Linked DNA regions of Homo sapiens: all the other regions are linked to region 1. The links are contacts of gene promoters, found by promoter capture Hi-C in blood cells and fetal thymus (Javierre and others, 2016). All regions are on one chromosome and are shown on one strand. Each heading gives the region's core, a stretch centred on a gene start or on the middle of the fragment in contact. The rest is flanking DNA. Distances are from core to core; before and after follow the strand shown.

The links. Contacts are between HindIII fragments. The CHiCAGO score rates a contact against its expected background, and 5 or more counts as called.
Region 2: a fragment that was not itself captured here is called in contact with the fragment with the promoter of CLRN3 in region 1 in 4 of 17 cell types (monocytes, M0 macrophages, M2 macrophages and 1 more); the score reaches 9.5 in monocytes.
Region 3: a contact is called between a fragment that was not itself captured here and the fragment with the promoter of CLRN3 in region 1, in 4 of 17 cell types (monocytes, M0 macrophages, M2 macrophages and 1 more). The highest score is 7.4, in monocytes.
Region 4: a fragment that was not itself captured here is called in contact with the fragment with the promoter of CLRN3 in region 1 in 2 of 17 cell types (monocytes and neutrophils); the score reaches 6.0 in monocytes.
Region 5: a contact is called between a fragment that was not itself captured here and the fragment with the promoter of CLRN3 in region 1, in 7 of 17 cell types (monocytes, M2 macrophages, M0 macrophages and 4 more). The highest score is 14.1, in monocytes.

Annotation. Positions count from the first base shown.
Region 1 is chr10:127,891,563-127,894,262 of GRCh38, forward strand. It overlaps CLRN3 (clarin 3), which reads right to left and starts at 1,379. Exons shown (of 3, transcript NM_152311.5): 1 at 994-1,379. The coding sequence starts at 1,222. The HindIII fragment of the contact is 797 bases long and covers 1,183-1,979 here.
Region 2 is chr10:128,216,156-128,218,855 of GRCh38, forward strand. No RefSeq gene overlaps it. Among named protein-coding and RNA genes, the nearest start is that of LINC01163, 68 kb to the right of the region's middle. The HindIII fragment of the contact is 7,504 bases long and covers 1-2,700 here.
Region 3 is chr10:128,186,889-128,189,588 of GRCh38, forward strand. No RefSeq gene overlaps it. Among named protein-coding and RNA genes, the nearest start is that of MKI67, 62 kb to the left of the region's middle. The HindIII fragment of the contact is 5,504 bases long and covers 1-2,700 here.
Region 4 is chr10:128,234,579-128,237,278 of GRCh38, forward strand. No RefSeq gene overlaps it. Among named protein-coding and RNA genes, the nearest start is that of LINC01163, 50 kb to the right of the region's middle. The HindIII fragment of the contact is 1,279 bases long and covers 788-2,066 here.
Region 5 is chr10:128,161,775-128,164,474 of GRCh38, forward strand. No RefSeq gene overlaps it. Among named protein-coding and RNA genes, the nearest start is that of MKI67, 37 kb to the left of the region's middle. The HindIII fragment of the contact is 6,337 bases long and covers 1-2,700 here.

The sequences.
Region 1 (2,700 bases), core at 129-2,628:
ACATCTAAATGACAAATGTATAACTTGGGAACATAACCAGGTTGCTTTGGATTTAAGAAAATAGTTTCATTAACAAAGTCATAAACACACTAGAGCTAGAACTTAGAGCTAGTGTCTAGGACTCAAACTTCTTCATGCATTACACAAGGACTAAACATTACATGTGTATAAGGTAGAAAATGATGCATATTTATAAGTCAAAAGGTAATGACTGTATGATACCCAATAATGCCTGTATAATACTTGCATACAACATTGTTCAAAACAAAGTCCACTTAATGTGTTACATAATTTACAAATGTTTTTAAATTTAGAAAACATGAAGGTAGGTTATCAAACCTCAAAAGTCAAATAAGTAGCTAAATCAACTTATTATTCTCAATGAACTTTTAATTTTACTTCCATGGAGAGGAGGGCATTATTATATAAGAAATCAGAAAAAAAAATGTTTAGGAATTCCTATCAAATATACAATTAATAAATTAATGGAAATTTAATATAATTTCCAACGATTAGATTTTTTGGAGGTAAATTAAAATCAGTTAAAGAAATGAACTTGAGAAATAGAGATAATAAATTTTCCATTTTACTCTTTCCTGCATAGATGCCACTTGTGAAGTTCTAGACAGAGGTTGTGGCTCCAGCTAAAAACCCAGTCAATACAGTTAAAACATGTGTTCCTACTGGCTATTCAATGCCGTATTGCTGCCACATATTTTTACTTATTTACTTGTCAGTCAACTTGGTAGGTATTATTTAAATACAGCCACTGCTAGAATGATATAGACTATTGTATTAATAGACACAAGGAGAACCGAGGAAGCTCAAATAATGACATGGCAAATTTCCAAAATTATGAGTTAAGCTTGTACCTTCAGCCTAACCCAAAACTTACAAAGAAATTATTTTTGAATGGTTATTTGGCCCAAATATAGAATGACATAAACCTTAATTCAATCTCACTATATTCATTCAAATTAGTTTATCATTTACCTGCAAACTTTTTCTTTGGTTCTGCAAGTCCGTGACTCAATTCTTCACTACTCTCCCCACGAAAAAGTCCGTAAGTGATGAAAATGCTCCCATTTGAAGCAGAGTCTCTAACAGCAATTGTACTGGTGATCCATGCTTGTGTCCCAAGAATAGAGCAAATTACAATGAAGGACCCAAGGCTGGTGAAAAAGCTTGATAAGAACATCAATGTCTTCTTTGTGGTAGGCATTTTCACAGGAAAATAAGTTCTCTAGGACAAAAAAAGGAATATCTTCTTATAACACTTTTGAACCTTATCTTTTGAAGTCTGGTATTTAGAAATGGAGTCTAACACTTTATTGTCAAATATAAAATCTCACTCTTCCTGAGGAAGGGTTATGCTAATGGACATTGAACTCTGAACATGGCCATAAAATTAACAGTAGCTGAACTTTGGTCTGGAGTAAGAGGCTGCTATGGTTACAGCCAACCAGCATGAACAAGGGGTGGGCATGGTCTTCCCAGGGACTTCCTCAATCATGCAATTAATTTATAATCCTTGGCCAAGTGTCATGGAAGCAAGTTTAGCCTACCATATCATGACAGGAGTAGAATTCCTAAATAATAGGGCGTGGAGGATCTGTATTCCCAAAGCGTTGCTGAGTCTAGCAGACAACAACATGAAACCCCAACTCCTCCAAGAATTATTGGAAATATGTAAACATATACTTCACTATTGTGGATATTTATGTTGCTTCAATTTCACAATTATGATTGAGAAAGAACAACACCCAAATATCTTTAGGCATAAACCTTTGTTCATATCTCCACTTGCTTCCTTGCTTAAACTTCTAGAAGTTTGACGAAGTCTGTGGATTTTTCTGAAGTTTTTGCTATGCATTGCTCAGTTTCTTTACTCATTAGTGATTTGACTCTTATAATTGTTCCAAGAGGAATCCTAAGGAGGGTAAACCTTTGTCAAATGTACTGTGGAGTGGAAAGAGAAAAGCTTACACCTCCTTATGTTTTATACCTCTCTATTTTTAGACTTTATCAGAGAGGTTTGGCTTTCAAATTTCCTCTTTCAAATTGGATCATATTTGCGTATTATTTAAATTATATCTTGAGAAGTTTCATCTTTATTACTTTTTAGTACTCTGATAGAGATGGTTCTGAACATTCTTGTTTTTGGTCGTTATAGCTGTATCCACTCTGTTGAATGGTAAATAGTTTATAAATGGTCATTTCTGGACTTTCGAAAAACTCTCCCATTTGGCGAAAAGATCATTTCTTGAGATGATAAATAGACATTCATAGCATGTTTTCCATACCGCTTTTTACTGTATTCTTTGATTATTTAGTAATATAATATTAAGTTGGTGCAAATGTAATTGCAGTTTTTGCCATTAAAAGTTACATTTACTTTTAATGGCAAAAAAACGCAATTACTTCATCCTCTACTTTTCTTCATTAACACCTAACTTATTTGTGGAACTAGCTGATCATCTGTCTTTTCCGTTATTGTAACTAGATGACATGCTCCGGGAGGTGGACATGTTTGTTTTGTGTACCACTGGATTCCAGGGAACTCTCAAAGAGCCTGGCCCAGAGAAGACACTCAGCAAACATTTGTTCAATAAATTATTGGAGATACGTACACACATACTCTACTACTGTGGACACTTATGTTGTTTCTATCTTAAAATTATGATTAAGGAAGAACAATGC
Region 2 (2,700 bases), core at 9-2,508, 320 kb after region 1:
AGTGGCCAGCCCAGAAGGGAGAAGTGAGGACCTTGTCTTTCCACAGATGGACTGTGTGGCCTCCTGTAAACCCCTTTGCTTTCCTGAGCCTCAGTTTCTCCTTTATACCTCCTGGGGTTTCTCATAGCAAGTGCATCTGGTTGGCCCTAAAATTTGGCTGGGGCAATTAGAGGTTTCTGGGAGCTTCCTTCTTTGGCAACTGGTTTGCCCTCCTGATGCTTTTTGGGGCTGGGGGGTGGTTCAGAGCACACAACTGAACCTGTGGGGCAGCTCCCTCGTCTGCAAACCTTGTCCACAGCTGTGCACAGTGTGGCATAAGCCAGCAGAGGCAGGAAGAGAGGTGACTCCCAGCTGGACACGGGCAGTGGCATCTGTGGCATCTTCCTCCGGGCTGGCCCTCAAGCCTGACCCCGTCTGCAGGCATTAGGAGCTGGGAAGGGCCGCTCTCCACTGCCTGGTGTAGAGAATCCACTCTGTTGTATCCAAAGTGGCTGACAGAAGGGAGGAGGCAAAAGAGCCCTTGGTGAGTGCGTTTTCCACTGGAGCTGGAAGGGAATGGGGTGGATGCGGTGTCTGGGGACCAGGGTGCTTCCATGCCTGGTATTTCCCCACCATGCAGCCTGATTTTCAGAGATTTACAAGAGTTCTTAATGAGCAGGGGCTGTCTGAAGCCATCTGCACCCATGCCCCTGCCCTCTACAGTGACTCTTTCTGCAGCGGGGGCTTTTCCTTCCCAAGGAGGCCTTTGTCCCGCCCAGACTCCATGGCCAATCAGGCCTGCCGTAGGTGAGTGACACCGAGTCTGCATCTGACTCCTCAGAGCTCCATCCAACCCGTGCGCGGGGACAGGGCTCAGACTGCAGAAGTTAGCTTCGGCCACACTTAAAAAAAATAAGGTGAGCCATGAAATTTGATGTTCACAACCTTCTTGCTGGGGGTGGCTGATGTCGTTTTAACATTCAGAGAAAGATTATGTTCACAAATTCAACATGTCATTTTGGATTCTTAGTTCATTGGGCATGGGGGTCAACCTTCCCTGTAGTTTGTCGTGAGCGATGAAAGACTAATCATTCCTATGCTCTACCACATCCTGTGGTCTGGCCTTTATGAAAGTGAGGCTGTGCGTGTGCTATGTGGGCTGGACATTCAGAATGTGGGTGTTTGGAGTAGGAAGACGGGAGGACAGTTGGGGAAGTAGATGCTGCCTGTTGGGCTTGCTGATGGCTGTGATGACCCCATGCAGCTGGAAAATGCCTGCTGGACCTGGCTTTGACCTTCAAAATTAGGGGGCGGGTTCCCACGCACCAGGTGGGTGGAAATGCTCACAGCAGAGGATGAGGCGGCTGGATGCCAAGCCTATAATTAAAAAAGGGCTTTGCAGATGGGTCCTTTTAACTCATCTCCATCTTATAAACACTGAGAAGATATAGGAAGGGCAAAGTGGAGACTAGGAAGATTACAGTAATATAGCTTCTCGGCTAATTGATTAGCAATTATGGCTGGTAATATTGTTCATTTTAATTGTGTTTAATCTCTATTTTGGTAATAAAGATTATTGTTTTGGATTATGACTTTGTCCTACTATACTAATTAGTAACTTGTGAAATTAAAGTGTATATTTTCACATCCTGAAAAAAATTCACAACCTGCTCTTATATAATAGCTTCCCTTTCTGAACAGACCAGTTGTTTGGGGGTGTTTTGTCCTTAACATCTTAGAAGGACTGAATTTTGACAAGCAAAGTATGTGATATTTGGCCAGTTGACCAAGAAATAGAGGATTTATTTTAAAAAGTCATGTTTTTAAGGGAAGGAAAGAAACAGAAGATATTGCCAGAAATAAATCTGAAAAGTGAGAGAACACAAGTAGAATTACTTGGAAAATGGATTTCTAATTTTCCAGAGGAGGTGTCCCTAGAGTCAGGCCTGCTGCTCTTGACTGATTGCAGTGGCAGAACCCCACCTCAGAGCCCTGCACCCCACTTTTCCACGGTTACGCCTGCAGGCACTGCCTGGTCTCCTCCCTCCTGAGACAAACGTCGGTTTGACACATCTATTGCTTGTGCTTAGATTTTTTTTTCCCCACAAACTTTTTGTATTGAGTAGCCCACACTTGCAGCTACCATTTCCTCCCCACTGCCTCATCCTGACTCTTGTAGAGCAACCACACTCATGGACCTTTCCCACAACCCACCCCCAACAAAGGCATTTCCCCAGGTCACATTCAGGATCTCTACAAGCCGTTGACCTTATGTGTCTCCCTCTCCTGACCCTGGCCTTCCAATGCAGCCATGAGCTGCATGACAATGTTTCAGTCAACAACCCAATGCTTGCACCACCGTGCTCCCATAAGATGATACTGGAGCTGAGCTGAAAAGTCCTATTGCCTGGTACCAGTGTGGCCCTCATGACGCCTGTGCAACACCTGACTCGTGTTTGCGGTGATGCTGGTGTAAACAAACCTCTTGTGTTGCTGGTCATTTGAAAGTCTAATGCACCCAATTATGTCCAGTACATAATACTTGCTAATGATGATAAACGACCATGTGACTGGCTTATGTATTTACTATATTATGCTTTTATTATTATTTTAGAGTGTACACCTTCTACTTATTAAAAAAAAAAAAGTTAACTGTGAAACAGCCTCAGGCAGGTCCTTCAGGAGGTGTTCCAGAAGAAGTCATTGTTATCAAAGTCTTCT
Region 3 (2,700 bases), core at 186-2,685, 300 kb after region 1:
GCCTCCTCAGTAGCTGGGTCTATAAGTGCATGCCACCACAGCTGGCAAAGTTAATTTTTTTTTTTTTTTGTAGAAATGGGAGTCTGGCTATGTTGCCCAAGCTGGTTTTAAACTCCTGGCCTCAAGTGATCCTCCAGCTTTGGCCTCCCAAAGTGCTGGGATTCCAGGCATGAGCCACCATGCCCGGCCAATGTGTTCCAGTTATTATAATTATGGTGAGACTGCCATGCTTCCTAGTCCTTGGGTGCCACTGTGGCTGGCTGGATGAGCCCCTTTCAAATGCTTCCTAGCAACCATCCCTTCTGGAAGTCCGAGGTGGGTAACTTGAGCTCATGTTTAAGTCAGATTTATTTTACTTTAAGTTGTCCCCTTTTAGGGCTAATTTAGCAACACGCATGCCCTTTCTCAAGATTCTTATCAGATGGTGGTGAACTTTTAACGAATATAATGAAAAACATTTCCCCATCCTAGAACACGGGGGAAGGCAAAATGCAGCTTGACCCCGTCAACTTCTTTCATCTGGTCTCTGTAATCAGTTTTATGAAAAGCACATGGCTGCCCTGCTCTATCTTGATAAAGAACAGTTTTTCTGTTCCATTAAAAAAAATCGTTGGAGAGCTGTTTTTGATGTTGAGAGAAGACGAGGTGCAGCTGAGGGAGATGGGGAGGAGCCCTCTCCTCTGCGCCCTGTTTCGGGGGCAGCGAGCCCAGTGGGTTCTGCCTTTCAGGTCTGTTCCTTCATTACGGCAGCTGCACAGGAGGTCGCTGTCTGGGGACAGTCTCGGGTTCCTCCCCACCAGGGCTTTGTAGAGATTCACGCCTCAAGCCCAAGTGTATCCGGGAGCAGGGGCGAGGCAGCTGCAGCTGCCTCAAATGAAAATGAAAGAGGCATTTGTTCTCATCAGTATTGCTTAGAAGAGAAGAGGACTGGTCCTGGAGGTGTTTTCAGAGAGTTTTTCCAAACAGGAAAAGTTTTGGGTAATAGGCTGTCTTCCCAGCCAACTCCTAAGAGACCTGGTTGTGGGTCTGTAGTATATCAAAACTGTTTTGACCACAAATATTTATTGTACATCCACGAGGTACCAACCTTGTTCTAAGTGCTTAAACTATGTCAGCGAACAAACGAATAAAGCATCCTCCTCTCCTGTAGCTAGCTCAGACTCAGAAGACAAATGAGGACTGGAATCAGTCAATCATGCAGCAGGTTAGAAGGTGAACGTGGTGTAGAAAGAAGGGACAGCAGAACTGAGCAAGGGATCAAGGATGCCAGGGATGGAGGGGCCACAGGTAGTCTATTTAGAAGGATGGCTGGGAGGAGTCTTATAAGAGAGGTGAGATTTAAGCAAGAACCACTGCCCCCAACAAAAAAACCCAAAAAACAAAGCATCCCAGCTATGTGACAAGAAAAATACTTAGATGTGTGTGCTCATTTCCACCTCATGAGGATTCCAACGTTGAGAAGAGAGAGCTCTGGTGACTGCCAGCCTGTTACACCCAACACATGGATGCTCCTGGACTGGTGAGACCTAAGTGCCTGGCTCTTCAGCCACCCCCTCCCCTTGGCACCCTTCTTTGTCTTGCTTCTGAAGTGCTAGCCTTGCCTTTTTTTTTTTTTTTAACCCTTTCAGGCCAGTTTCTCTGGCCTCTTTCTTGGGTTTCTTTTTTTTCACCAGTTTCTTTGAATGTTGGTTCTCCGAGGTTCTGTTCACCCCACCCATCTATTTCCCTTGGATCATCTTGCCCACACCACAGCTTTTACAACCACTGGTCAGCTGGCAACTTGAGACCATCTCTGAGCTGAATGTCCTTCCTGAGCCCCAGTTCTGTCCCCCCAGGTGCTTTAGGAAGTCTAAAGCTGAACTCATCAAACCTGTTTCCTTTGGGGAATTTTGTTGGTAACAGCTCTGCTTTCCAGCTAATGATGCAATCAGAAAGCCAAGAATCATTTCAGTTGTCCCTTTTCCTTTCCCAGCAATAATCAATATGCAAGGTGCTCACACATTGACAGTGACAGCGAACATTTGCTGAGTGCTCCTGGGTGTTAGGCAGCGCCCCCAGAGCTCTGCAGAAGGCAGGTGGGGACACATGGAAATACCTGGGCAGGGGGAAGTGGAGTGAGCAGCAAAACTAGGACTTGAACCTATGCCCTCAGACTCTGGAGGATGCACCTTTAACCACCCCCATGAGATGAGGTCTTAGAGGTGCCCTGGGGTCAGATCCTGGAGGACTCCTCAGCTCACACTAAAGACTTTGTACTTTATTTCTTAGCAAAGTGAGACCATGAAAGGATCTCAAGTGGGGTAAGAAAGAGAGGGGCACATCATGTGGTTTTTACTTAGAGGATCACTCTAGCTTCAGGGTGGGTGTCAGATGGTGGGAAAGAGGGGACGATGTCATGTTGTAATAGTATTGGCAAGAGACAATGCCGGCTTGGAGTGGAGCAGGGAGGCGAGGGTGGAGAGAAAGAGATGAGATCAGGAGATGTTGAGGAGACACTGTCAAGAATCTGGTGAAGTGCGGTGGAGGTGGCTGCCAGGAACAGGGAGTGACAGGATTGTCACCTGCTCTTGCATCCAATTCAACTGCTTAGGAAAACAATGCCTTATTATAAAAGTCCTACATCTTTATTGTAGAATACAAAATGTAGAAAGAAAAACAAGAACAACATGTCTAGGTCCATTATGCACTGATAACTACTAT
Region 4 (2,700 bases), core at 177-2,676, 340 kb after region 1:
GAGAAGTCATGGGTATGATGTAACACTGGTCATGACAATGAGAAAAGCATTTTTAGGTACTTAAAATATGAAAGGTTGGTGGAGAAAATTTAATAAGAATTCTAAAACTTGCCTGGGAGTTTGAGGAGAAAAAATGGATTAAATTTTTAGTAGCAACCTAGCATGCCCAGCATAATAAATATTAGGTCCCTGGGGACCATCAGGTGTCACTGCAATGATGGAGACCAGCCTCATTCTTACGTCTCCTTGGTAGGGAAGCCACAGAAACCAGAAACACAATACTTGAGATATACAAGTACGTGGCCAGCCAGAGAGAGTCCCTGGGCCTGGAGGCCAGATGGCAGCCAGGAATGCAGGGCTCTCCCTGGGGCTGCAGGAGAGGACAGGGCCAGTGTGGGTCTAAAGGGAAATTGAGAGCTTTTCTCTTGGCTCCTTATGGCTTATTGATGAGGCTAGAGGGAGTTTCTGATTTCGGACCCCGTGCCCTAGGAAGCCTCTGATTTCACCCTTTGTTTTCCTGCCTCCTGAAGACAGTGGGATTGCCTGGATCTGCAGGGGTCAGGTGTCAGGGGTTCTAATTCCTTTCATTCTTTGAGTTGCTTGGAAGGGCCTTGGGAAAGTGACGGCAGGCCTGCCTGTCACTCCTGATGGCCAAGTGGGATCAACACATTCGTTATAAGTTTGTGTTATTGTTCACAAAGCTATCGCTTATTTCAAACAGCAGCCTCAAGGTCCTGGAGAAGTTCATGGGTGTGTGAAGTAACTCAGGTCTTCTTGTGCACAGTGAAGCTTGGTTTATGGGCTGGGAAAGGGAACATTGAGATGGGAAGGCATGTCCAACAACCATTCCATTGATCTGAGGGTTGACCTAGAAAAAGGCCCAACAGAGCCCTTTACTGTTCCTGGCATATAATACCAACATGTATGTTGAAAGAATAGCCGTGGAGGGAGGGCAGTGAAGCAGCGAAGTTCCCTGCTGTGCTGCCATGGGGAATGATGCGTATCCCACACTTGGGTAGGGGCTGTCAAGGGATGACCCGGTGCCTTCTTGCCCAGTGAACAGCAGACTCGGCACGGTCCTAATCCAAACTGATTTGTTAGAAATACCAACTTCTCATTTGATCACTTGAGTTTCCAAGACTAAGTTACTGCAAATGCTATGATTTTGGTAACATTTTCTGTGCCTTGAAAACTTTCTTTGGTGATTCTAAAAATTACTGTTAAGCCTGAATAATTTTAGGTAACATTAAATAATTTTGACTTCAATGGCTAACAGTTATGGAGCACTCAGTAAGTGTCAGGTATTGTGCTAAGGACCTACGTGCATGAGCCCATTGATTTGTCCTACAACCCCACCAGGTATTTGATGTTATTACCCCCATTTTACAGATGAGGAAAATGAGACACAGAGAGGTTGAGTAATAGCCCTGGTAGCACAGTGGGCAAGGTGCTAGCATGGAACCAGGAAATCTGAATACAAAGCTCAGGGCATCTTCAGAGGTCTGTGTCTCCCAATCCCTTCCTCCCTTCAGCCAAAATCATGGTTGGTTTGGATTCTGGTATAAGAAATTAAAGTGGCAAAGTAGTGTCCTTCAAGAAAGCAAATGACAATGTGTCCACCTGGAACCACCTGCAAGGGCAACAGTGGGGGCATGGAGGTGTCTATGCCTACGTTAGACAGCAGAGCTCAGTGTCATAGAGGAGTTGAGTAGAGGGAGGAGGAGGAGAGTGCCACACAGAGAGGACGAAGGAATGGAAAACACATGCGCATACACACATGCACACACGTATGTGCCTGCACTCACATGCAGGCACCCTCATGTGCACACCCAGCTGTGCCTGTGCATGCAGCAGAGGAAGGGGAGATGGGGAGTGAAGGAGGAACTGAGTGAAGAACAGCAGACCAACAGGCACCTGGGTGACTCCAGCAGAGCACAGGGCTCCACATGGAAGGTGGGTTCAACAAGATCAGCTGGGATCTTTGGGGGGAATGGCTTGGGTAGGAGGCATCATTTTTCTTTTTATATATAGGCTTTATTTTTTAGAGTAGTTTTAGGTTCATAGCAAGCTTGAGCACAAAGTCCAGAGTATGCCCATATTTCCCCTACCCCCAAGAGAAGCACTTTTTTTGCTATAAATTTTAAGCTGAACTCTATGGTGCAATTTCTAATGTAAATGCTTGTAGTCAACACCCACTGAAAATGGGAAATGCTGGATAAGTTGTGTTCTCTGTGACATATTTTACAATCTAAGACATAGGATGGACTCCAATTCCCATTGAATCTGGCATTCTTTTCATCCTTATAGGATGTCCCTGGAAGATTGTGTATGTCCATGGGCTGAGGAGGGCGAGGTTGTCTCAGGTCAGTTGCATCCACTCTGGACACCTAGTCCAGCTGGCTGAGCTGTGATGGCTGGAATTGGCTTTGAGCCTCATCAGCTGATGGGGTGGACAGGCTGGAATCAAGTATAGGAAAAATGTTCCCACACACTCTAAACACACATTTACCTCTGCTTTGGGATTCCAGCTGATTTCACAACAAACACCACTGATTTCAGAGCCCTGGTATTGCAGCCACTGGTCACGTCCAGCCATTCTGAAAAGTTGCTCAGCCCCTCTTTTTGCTGACTTGGGTTCACCTGGATTTTCAATTCTGGGGAAAAGTTTTGTGACATCTACTTCCACCTTGGCCCTCTGTC
Region 5 (2,700 bases), core at 172-2,671, 270 kb after region 1:
TTGCAGTCATGCCTTCATGGGTCCTGTAGGTTTGTGTCTACCTAATTCATCAACTTCAGCCTCAGGTCAGTTGCTTCCTGGACTTCCCTGTGTCCAGTTGAGATGCCAGCTCTCCCCCAGGCAGCATCCCTTCCAGGCCCAGCAGTCTATGATTCTACAAGACCACCTTTACGCAGGAGGGTCCCTATGGGAGGGGCTCACCGCTGTCCTCCGGACTCACTGCCACGTCTCACCTTTTCCCCACTCCTGGTCTTCCATGCACTGGCCATTCCTTCTCAGCCCCACTGTCTCCCTAACAGCTCTTGCCCCTACTAGTTGCCACTCTGGACCATTCTATGGCCTCCTTACAACTTCCTGCCCCCCTCTCTTCTCTCCTTACAGGCCTTGTCTTCTTTCCATGAAGGCTTTTAGAACAGAATGTTTTTTGTGTTGCTTTTCTCCTCACCTCCTCAACAAACATGAGAAAAAGTCCTTAGTTCTTGGCCCCACACTAAGGGCTGAGCACACTCTGGTTACCACCGATCTCTCCGGACTTGTTAACCGTCCTTCCTCACCTGCGGCCAGGCTGCTTTTTGGGTTGCCTCCCAAACATTTAGGAGCAGAAAGTATAAGTATGGGCAGAAAAAGGAAGAAGAAGGCACATACAAGTGTGAAGAACAGGCAAGAAGAGAAACAGAACTGGCAGCTCCTCACCCTCACGCTGGCTGCCCGGTGTCTGGGGACCCTCCCAGGGTGCACTCTCCCTGCTGGAGGATGGACACTTCTGACCCCACCACCCACTCCTTCCATGAATGATAGAGCCCCAGAATTCAAGATTTCATTAAAAAAAAATAAAAAAGAGCTCAGAATAATGGCAGAATGATGGTATCTAAATGAGTTTACAGACATTTAATTATAACTGATTACAATCTCAAAATATATCTCAGCATTTTTTGGTCTTTTCTTTCCTTTTTTGAGACAGAATCTCACTCTGTTGCCCAGGCTGGATTGCAGTGGCGTGATCTCAGCTCACTGCAATCTCCGCCTCCCAGATTCAAGCGATTCTCCTGCCTCAGCCTCCCGAGTAGCTGGGACCACAAGCGTGCACCACCACGTCTGGCTAATTTTTGTATTTTTAGTAAAGACAGGCTTTCGCCATGTTGGCCAGGCTGGTCTCGAATTCCTGACCTCAGGTGACCTGCTCGCCTTGGCCTCCCAAAGTGCTGGGATTACAGACATGAGCCACCATGCCCGGCCAAGTCTTTTTACTATATAATAGAATATTAATGTAGAAGTGGATAAATGCACCTCTTCAGCCGGCATGCTGGAATATTACTCATGAAGTGAATGGTGCCTTATTAGTGTTAACAGGACCTGTCCCATCTCATAGGGAATGGGTGTTGCTTTGGGTACTACCGTCCGCCTTTTATTCCCACAGAGCCATGCCGAGACCACAGGACAAGAGCGATCCCTGTCCCTATATCTCAGCACCAGGTTATTAGTGACGCCCCTTAGGTTCCCAGCTCCACAGGCAGCACAAACCCAGCCGGCATCATGGAGAGTTGTTGAACTGGGTTTTGCGTGTAGAGTGGGCTGGGTGGGAGGGGCACCCACGAGGGCTTCCAGAGAAGCCAGCCGTGGGGCTGGTTACCTGAGAATGAGGGTCTTTTCTAAAGGAAGCCCCTTTGTTGGGGCAGCTGGTGGGGAGCTGGGCACTCAGGGTGAGTTGGACCCCAGATCCCCTGTCATTGGCAGCTGCTTAGCCTGTGTGGGCCTCAGTTTCTCCATCCCTAAAATGGGAATATCAGGGACTCTGTAGGTTGTTACAGCCTCAGTGGCCTGGATAATTTCTTAGCAAAGTGTCCTGCACTGCTATTCTTGGAGCTCTAGTGTTTTTTTAACTTTTGCTGAATCCGGCCCTTGATTTGCCATTTACAAAGTCCCCCAAAGAGAGGGCAACATATGGGTCCCCCTCATTTCAACCTCCTGGACTGGTCCTGATCTATCAGGGCCTCTCGATGTGGTCTTGGGCCAGTTGGTTTGAGATCATCAGCTTGTATTACAGAGGATCCAGGTTTCTTACAACTCAATTTAGACGCTACAGTGGAAATGCGCTTTGGAATGAGGCAGAGCAGGTTGGAGTCCTGGCTTTGCAACAGGATGTGTGGCTTTTTGCCAGTTTCCAAACCTCTCTGAGTCTTGATTTTCTCATCGGTGAAAGGGTAAAAAGCCTGCTTCTCAGGGAAGCTGTGAGAATTAAATGAACTGGCATATGGAAAACACACAAGCAAACCACAGGCACCCCACAAACGGGCTTTCCCTTTCTATCTTTCCTTAAACACAGCTCCCTCCCTCGGGTCTCTGGTCAGAATCTTCCCATGTAGTACTCTTTGTGACACCTCAAATTCCTGGGTTCTGAGACTGGACGTGGAGGGCCAGCCTTAGGCAGGGGAAATGGTGGTGCAAAAAAGTTCAGTGGAAAAGAACAGCAATGAAAGCAAACGAGCATCTTACTGTGTGGCCTGGGCTGTGGGAGTCTCAGGGAGAGGCCTCCGTCACCATCCACAGCTCAGGGGGCCAGGAAACTCTGGTTGCCAACATTTAAGGCAGCGTTAGGATTTTATGTGAGCAGAAAATGCCAGTTTTAGATCACTATTTTCTCATTGTTTGTAAGAAAATATCATTTATACTCAAAAGGAATGACTGCTTTTATTAATTTAA